Regions from separate parts of the Homo sapiens genome. Here region 2 is linked to region 1. The links are contacts of gene promoters, found by promoter capture Hi-C in blood cells and fetal thymus (Javierre and others, 2016). All regions are on one chromosome and are shown on one strand. The core of a region is centred on a gene start or on the middle of the fragment in contact, and the rest is flanking DNA. Distances in the headings are between cores, read along the strand shown. Region 1 holds the start of SUSD1 (sushi domain containing 1). Region 2 overlaps SNX30 (sorting nexin family member 30).

Evidence for each region. The method cuts DNA at HindIII sites, captures the fragments that hold promoters and counts their contacts. A CHiCAGO score of 5 or more calls a contact.
Region 2: a fragment that was not itself captured here is called in contact with the fragment with the promoter of SUSD1 in region 1 in 1 of 17 cell types (total B cells); the score reaches 5.1 in total B cells.

Annotation. Positions count from the first base shown.
Region 1 is chr9:112,172,689-112,176,701 of GRCh38, forward strand. SUSD1 (sushi domain containing 1) reads right to left here and starts at 2,609. Exons shown (of 17, transcript NM_022486.5): 1 at 2,445-2,609. The coding sequence starts at 2,547. It also overlaps the pseudogene RPL29P20. RefSeq lists a silencer at 2,068-2,727. The HindIII fragment of the contact is 4,774 bases long and covers 991-4,013 here.
Region 2 is chr9:112,814,248-112,818,426 of GRCh38, forward strand. It overlaps SNX30 (sorting nexin family member 30), which reads left to right. Exons shown (of 9, transcript NM_001012994.2): 3 at 3,458-3,568. Among named protein-coding and RNA genes, the nearest start is that of SNX30, 66 kb to the left of the region's middle. RefSeq lists a silencer at 3,701-3,750. The HindIII fragment of the contact is 3,254 bases long and covers 1-3,062 here.

The DNA of each region.
Region 1 (4,013 bases), core at 1,359-3,858:
CTTGCACCTTCATATCTGTTATTAAATCCTTCCTTCCAGTCCATTTCCACCTTACTGTCTACATTCAGTCCGTTTCTGCTGTCATTACTGTGGGCCCAGTCCTCAGAACTTCCAGGCCAGCTATTGCAACAACTTCCTCAATGGGCTTGTCCAAGCCTCCAGTCTTTCCCTACATTGTCGACTGTCAGGAAACCTGCCCTTCATAAAACCAGGTTCTCCAAGGTTGAACATGAAGGGAGAATGTCTAGATAAGGAGAGGGGGCTCAACCAGGAAGCCTTGACTTCTGTTTCCCCAAATTCACCCCCAAAACCTTTAGTTACAGATGACCTTACGTAGCTACTAGCTGTGTTCAGCCATCTTAGTCTAACAATTCAATGGGATCATACTGGACAGTTTCCTACCTTAGAGATATCACAGGAAGATCCTGAAATAGACGCCAAGCATCTGCAAGTCCTATGCGCACTGTTCTCGGAGATAGAGCCAAGGAAGGAATCTTAACCAGGGCACCTAATATTACAAAAATGGCCACTCCAGAAGATCAAGCCATTGAAATACCCATCAGGCATGGTAAAAGTCCCAAGCCAAAGAGAATGGGGGTGGGGGCGGCAGGCAGGATTCTCAACCACAAGTCTCCTTGTATGTCATCACATGGAAATTTCCTTCCACTTCAGGATCAGCGTTTGGTTTTAGTAAGGAAGATGGGGGTTCCTTAGACCCTCTTTCCCCCGCCTCAAGTTTACTTATACAAATAGCAAAGGAGGACATCAGCCCCATGCAGATGGCAGTCCAAGGGGGACAATCCTTCTGTCCTCACGTTGGCAGACACAGATCTCTACTCTGAAGGCTTTGTAGGGGCCTGAGCTCCTTCGGGAGTCTGAGCTGGAACTGAAGCTGGAGCTGCAGCCTGAGCCTTGGTTTGATCCTTGACCTTGGTCTTTGGCTGGCACAGCCTGAGCCCCTTGGCAATGCGGGCACGAGCACGTTTCCCAAGCTTGAGGTGGGCAACGTAGGCAAGAGCTGACACCCTTTGGAATCTTGGGCTTAACCTCCTTGGGGTTTATGAGGGCAAGGCCTCAGCACGTGCACTCATGGCCTTGGCACTGTCGCCCTGCATCTTCTTTAGGCCCCTCTTATTGTGCTTCTTGGCAAACCGCATGTTTGTCAGGAACTTGGGGTCCACCCCTTTAAAAGATTCGTATCTTTGTGATCCGGGTTTCATGATGCCGTTTCTGTGCCATTTTCGGGACTGGTTGTGTGTGGTGTGGTGCTTGGATTTGGCCATGTCTGCACTGTAACCTGTGGCTCCCGAAGCGCCTAGAACTGGCTAGACCCACTTTTCTTGTCACTCCCTGAGACGGCTTCCAGTGGCTTCCAGGCACAGCTAAGTCCAAAGGCCTAGGTCTGCCAATCAAGGCACTCTGCCCTCTGCCTCTGGTGCCTCCGTGTGCTTCCTTCCCTTCTCCCCCGGGCCTGAATTCTGAAGGAATTCATTCATTCTACACTCATTTGTGGAGAGGTGACAGTGCCTTCTGCTATGAGCTGGGATACCTTTTTCACATTTTCCCATATCCAAATATGACCAATCATTGATGGCCCAGCTCAAGGGTCACCACCGATTCCCCTTTCCCTGCCCTCACCACCCACACCTTCTCATGGCACCCATGCCATTCTGCCTTGTATTACAGTTATGTGGATGAATGTCACCTCCCCTGCGTGTCTGAATCCTCTGTGTAATTCCTACTCAGCTCAACACTGCATTTTGCAGAGGAGGAAAAACAACTCCCTCGATTGCTTGGAAATAGAACATTTGCTGGTCTAAATCCTCCAGACAATGAGCTCCACGAGGGCCCGCACTGCCCGCCCTCATCGCGCACAGGGAAGCTGTTCAAGGGCCATCTGTTGAATGAATGAGTGAATTAATGGCTTCACTCCTGTACTCTTCCTTACGCGTCTTTCTCACCATATTTAGCATCCGGCTCTCTAACAACGTGAAAAAATTAAAAGTGGTAAGAAAATTGCTTCGGGTCAAAAATGTGTCATGCAAAAGCCACCGCAGAGCCGGAAGCGTGACAGCGCCGCAGAACGCCCTGGCCTCCCCGCCCTTCCCCGGGCGCCGCCCTGCCCGGGTCCGCGCTCGCGCCCAGCCCCCACCCCGCCTCCTGGGCAGTGGAGGTCCCTGGGGGCCCGGCCAGGCCGCCTTAAAACCGGCGTCCCCCGGCGTCGCGGGGTCGGGCGGGGGCAGGGAAGCCCGGCGGGGAGCCCCCCGCTTCTCTGAGCTCCTCCTTGCCGATCTCCAACGGCCGGCGCGGGCCCCACCTGCGCCCCACGCCTCGGCACCGCGCCGGCCCGGCCCAGGGGCGGGGAAGCGTCCGTGCGCCCAGAGTCCTCGAGGCCCAGCCGGGGGCCCCGCCGGCCGCCCGTGCCCGTCCCAGCCCGCACTCACCGTCGGGGCCCGGCGCTCCCGCGGCGCCGCGGGCCAGGCCGAGCAGCAGCAACAGCGGCAGCAGGCGGCGAGACGGGCCCGCATCCCAGGGCCCCCGGCCCATGCCGCCGCCGGTCCCTCCCGGCGCGCCCGCGCCTCCTCCCGGGGCCCTCAGGGTGCAGAGATAAGGCTACAGGCGCCGCGGGGAGGGGACCAGCCGGCGGCTTCCGGCGCCGCCGAGGGAAGCGGGGGGCGCTGCGGGGTCCCCGGGAGGCCGCAGAGCGCGGGTCCTTCCTCTTGTCGGGGCCTGGGCTTAGGACACGCCCGTTCCGCGTCCGTCTCTGGCTCCGCACTTGCTGCCCTCTCGCCGCTCACATTCGCAAAGGGGGACAGACACTCATCGGATAATGACACAGCTGGACGCAGAGCCCCGGAGAGTGCTGGGGAGGAAATGTTGCGGAGGATTCAAGCCACTCGAGGGCTCAGGGAGGCACCCCCGGGGAGAGGGGTGAGGGGAGCAAGGGGCGGAAATCTTCCAGGACGTGAAAGGGAGCTGGATGAGGTGACCACAGCGCAAGGCCCAGATGAGAGGTCGGAAGACGCAGACCCAGGCCACCCAGGGGCGACACACTTGACCAGGTGACACCTGGTCACCGGGAGTGAGAGAGAGTAGGGCTGTGATGGAGGGAGGGGCTGGCATCAGTCCCCGCTGCTCTGAGGACACCCGGCTTGGGACGCGCTGATGCCAGCCCCTACCTCCATCACAGCCGTACTCATCCCAAGGGAAGGAGTAAACCAAGACCCAAGGATGAGAAGGACGTTGGGGAGGAATCTAAGCGGGAGTTTGTTGTAGAAATGGGGAATGGGGACCTAGAGTGAGAGCAGAGGGTTGGAGAGGGGCGTTGAGCTGCAGAGGGAAGTTAGCCCTCCTAACCCAAGTGATGGAGGTCGCCGGGAAGCTGTCACAGTTTCAAGCAGTGAATGACTTCATCACTGACACATCTCTGTCTGTTCTGTGGAATTGGGATTGGGGTTGGGTTGGGATGTGGAAGGCAAAGAGTCCAGCCCGGAGTTGCTGCAGGAATCAGGCAATAGAAGACATGTCCTGGCCCGGTGCGGTGGCTCACGCCTGTAATCCCAACACTTTGGGAGGTCGAGGCGGGTGGATCACTTGAGGTCAGGAGCTCGATACCAGCCTGGCCAACTTGGTGAAACCCCGTCTCTACTGAAAAAAAAAAAATTAGGTGGGCACGGTGGCAGGCACCTGTAATCCCAGCTACTCGGAAAGCTGAGGCGAGAGAATTGCTTGAACCCAGGAGGCGGAGGTTGAAGTGAGCCGAGCTCGCACCACTGCACTCCGGACTGGGCGACAGAGTGAGACTCCATAGACAGATAGATAGATAGATAGATAGATAGATAGATAGATAGATAGATAGATAGATAGACAGACAGACAGACAGACAGACAGATAGAGATAGAGATAGATGTGTCCTGCAGCTGGGCATTGACAAATGAGTGTGAAGAGGGCAGTGTGTAAGAGTGGAATCCACTAGGTTTTATGACTAGTCGGGGAGAAGGAAATAAATAAGA
Region 2 (4,179 bases), core at 186-2,685, 640 kb after region 1:
ATTTATTTTTTGAGTTGAGGTCTTACTCTGTGGCTCACACTGGAGTGCAGTGGTGCAGTCTTGGCTAGCTGTAACCTCTGCCTCCCAGGCTCAAGCGATCCTCCCACCTCAGCGTCCTGAGTAGCAGGGACTACAGGTGCATGCCACCATGCCCGGCTAATTTTTGCATTTTTTGTAGAGACAGGGTTTTGCCATGTTGCTCAGGCTGGTCTTGAACTCCTGGACTCAAGCTATCTGCCTGCCTCGGCCTCCCAAAGTGCTAAGATTATAGGCATGAGCCACTGCGCCTGGCTGGACTTATAATTTTTAAAAAGACCCCTGATAAAAGAAGAAAAATACTTTTCTTCTTTTGGCCAATAAACATTTGAAAGGATGTTCAACCCCAATAGTAATTAAAGAAACAACTGTAAACAAAGATGATGTATTATTTTTCATTTATCAGTCCACCAAAGATAACTAGTTCCTGAGAATACGTGGTAAGAATATAAATTGCTATATTTCTGAAAGCAGTTTGTCAATTAAAAAGTATATGTACACTTTTGTCCAGCAATTCTATCTTTAGGAATTTATTTTAAGGGAATTACGAGGTGCTCAATGGTGTTTACAAAAGTATTGTTTATTGATGGAAAAATTGGAAACAACTTAAATGGGGATTTGGTTTAATTATCGTGTAACCATTCAGTGGAATACTATGTATGTGTTAAAATGACTGTACATCTGAACTTACTGCTGCAGAAAGATGTCCAAGATGTGCTAAAAGAGATACAGACAATGAGTAAATGAATGAATATGCGTAGAAAAATATGGAAACATATAAACCATGTTAATTGTGTTTTTCTGTATTTAGAGGGATTATGGCTGATCTTTTATTTTCTATTTATTTTTCTTGAAGTTTTAAAATAAGTATATAACCCGAATAAATAGAAGGAAAAAAAAAAAGCCTGTTCCCCAAAAGTGAAATTGGTTGTGGCAAAAATAAAACGTGTGTTCTATTGTGCTGTCTTTTGTAGTTACCAAAAATGATTTCAAATTAGAGTAGAAATATTACATAAACTGTAATTTATGAAATGGATCTGAAAAACATAAGAGAAATGATCAGTTAATAGTGTAACTTTTTTTTTTTTTTTTTGAGACAGGGTCTCTTGCTCTGTTTCCCAGGCTGGAGTGCAGTGGTGCAGTCTTGACTCACTGCAGCCTCCCCCTCTGGGGTTCAAGCAATTCTTATGCCTCAGCTGCCTGAGTAGCTGGGATTACAGGCACCCACCACCACAACTGGCTAATTTTTGTATTTTTAATAGAGACAGGGTTTCACCATGTTGGCCAGGCTGATCTTGAACTACCGACCCCAAATGATCAGCCCACCTCGGCCTCCCAAAGTGCTGGGATTACAGGTGTGAGCCACTGCGCCCAGCCAATAATCGTGTAACATTTAAGAAGGCAAAAAGTAGAGCCTTCCATCAGTTTGGTTTACAATGAAAACCAGTTGCTTTAATTTGTCACCTTTCAAAATATGTCTTTCATTAGCCCTTAATCATTGGCAAGTTCTCACATGGAGCCTATCGGGGGGAGATGGGAGGTCTTGAACTTCCCTTCCAACCTGCTTTTGTTTTTTTGAGACAAGGTCTCACTCTGTCGCCTAGGCTGAAGTGCAGTGGCACAGTCAGCTCACTGCAGTCGTCTCGACCTCCTGGGCTCAGACAATCCTCCTGCCTCAGCCTCTGAGTAGTAGGGACTGCAAGTATGCACTACCACACCTGGCTAATTTAAAACTTTTTTTTGCAGAGATGGGGTCTCGCTATGTTGCCCAGGCTGGTCTCAAACTCTAGGGCTCAAGCTAATCCTTCCTTCTTGGCCTCTTAAAGGGCTGGGATTACAGGCATGAGCCACCACGCCCTGCCCTAACTCTCTTCTTACTGTTGAACCTAGGGCTCAAGGAGGCTTAGTGACATGTTAGGGATCTGGTAGGGATGCAAGAACTGCATAGGCGCAGAGTCCTTCCTACTCCGCCTGTGCGGGTGGTGTGGGGATGGGAGTATCAGGCCACTTGTTCCCAATATTTCTGTCATGCTGTGCTTGAAAATTTGTCAACAATGACTTGCTCTCTGGATTTAAGTGTTGTCTTTTTTCCTCTCTCTCCAGTCCTACAATGCTAGTTCCTTTGGGAAAATCATCTGATAAGTCACAAATACCTACATTGAGTGAATTTCCCCACATCTTCACCCTTGCAAACACAGAGGAAGGTCGTGTTTCATAGGCATATGCTGGTGTGTGGGACTTGAAGAGGGGAAACAATGCAGTTAGTTGGGGGTCAGTCCAAGAATGAGTCCTTGAACTTCACCATTTTGCTAAGACAGTGAACACAGGTTTTGGGGAGGATGAAATCATAATTTTTGATGCTAGAGCTGTTCACAGCTTTTTCTTTGATGAATGACTCTCGTTCATGTGCTTAAAGATTTTCTTGGTGCTGTGAATTAAAACAGACTTTTGGCTTGAAAGAGTAAATTTATGAGATGTAGCTTGACCCATTTTTATCTTGTACTTTAATTTCTGAGAACCATGACAGTCATATAGTGTGTATCCTCATAGGGAAAAATGGCTTATGTGAGACACGGTGTAATTTGTGCCAGTAAATGAGTAAAAATCTTGTTTTGGTAAAAATCAACTCAATTTTATTTAACATTGATTTTCATTATTAAAGTGCTGCAATCACATTTCAGAAAACTTTAAAAATTGAGAAAAAGGGATGAGATTATTAATATTTTTCTGCAATGCAATGGCATTTTTGTATTATTTCTAGATTTTTTCTTATCTGTCTAAAATATAACAGTTCCAGGGTTGTGGTTTGGCAGAATGTGGCAAATTAAGCAAAACCTTTTCTATTTTCATCTAATCTGCCCCCGAAATGAGCAGTGATCTATTATCTTTACTTTTTGTTTATTTCCTCTTTGGCAAAACTTGTCAGCATATTTAGCAGAAGGTGGAGACAATTTCTTTTCACAGATTTGGATTTAGTAGCAATATCCTAAGTGGATTTTTTCTGCTAAAAGAAATTGTTAGAGTTAAGCTTGGAGGAAATGAATCAAATGTTTCTAAACAATTCTGGGGGATAGTTGAATTCTATTTCCTGACGGTAGGGAAAAAAAAAAAAACTGGCTTTTTTTTTTTTTTTTTTTTTTTTTTTTTTGAGACGGAGTCTCGCTCTGTCACCCAGGCTGGAGTGCAGTGGTGCAATCTCGGAAAACTGGCATTTTTATTCCAGCTCGTTGAATTTTTAACTGGGCTAAGTGTCCCAGACTGGTCTATTCTGTGTTGGTAAACTCTGCCATTTGGCTGTTGTGTTTGGTGGAAGGAAAATATGATCTTGCCTAGTTTGGTTATTCTAAGAGCTTTTTTCCTTCCCTTCAGCCAAGATATGCTATTCCCTTATGCTTATTTTTTTCCATTCTCTTCTTTGCAGAGTACTCGGGTGGAGTTTGACCTGCCAGAATATTCTGTTCGTCGAAGATACCAGGATTTTGACTGGTTGAGGAGCAAACTGGAAGAATCCCAGCCCACTCATCTCATTCCCGTAGGTAGTAAGTCACTACAGCTTGTTTCTCACTTGTCCTGTGTTGTCTTTCCTGAAGGGGTTCACTCAACTCTCATCCCTTAAGTTATACAGACTCACCCAGCAAACATATATAAAACATGTTAACGGACACTGTATACAATACTTCACCTATTAGGTTTTAGTTTCTGATTTGGTATATAGAAAGCCAGTTTTGCGGCTGGCTGGGCTTTCTTTAGCCACAGCGGCAGAAATCTAGCACAGAATCCATTGCCACAGTTTTTCATTTAAAAAACAAGAAACCACCTAACACTGTTTATTGAAGCAACGTGACATTTATCTACTCCAGCGCTTCCATCTGCACAGTTTTTAAAAAACAGAACCAGAGCAAAAGAAATTTAAATCTTTTTTTTTTTTTTTTTTTTGAGACAGAGTCGCACTCTCTTGCCCAGGCAGGTGCGCAATGGCATGATCGCAGCTCACTGCAACCTCCGACTCCCAGGTTCAAGTGGATCACCTGCCCCTACCAGGTTCAAGTGGATCACCTGCCCCAGCCTTCTGGGTAGCTGGGATTACAGGCGTATGCCACCACGCCCAGCTAGTTTTTGTATTTTTAGTAGAGATGGGGTTTT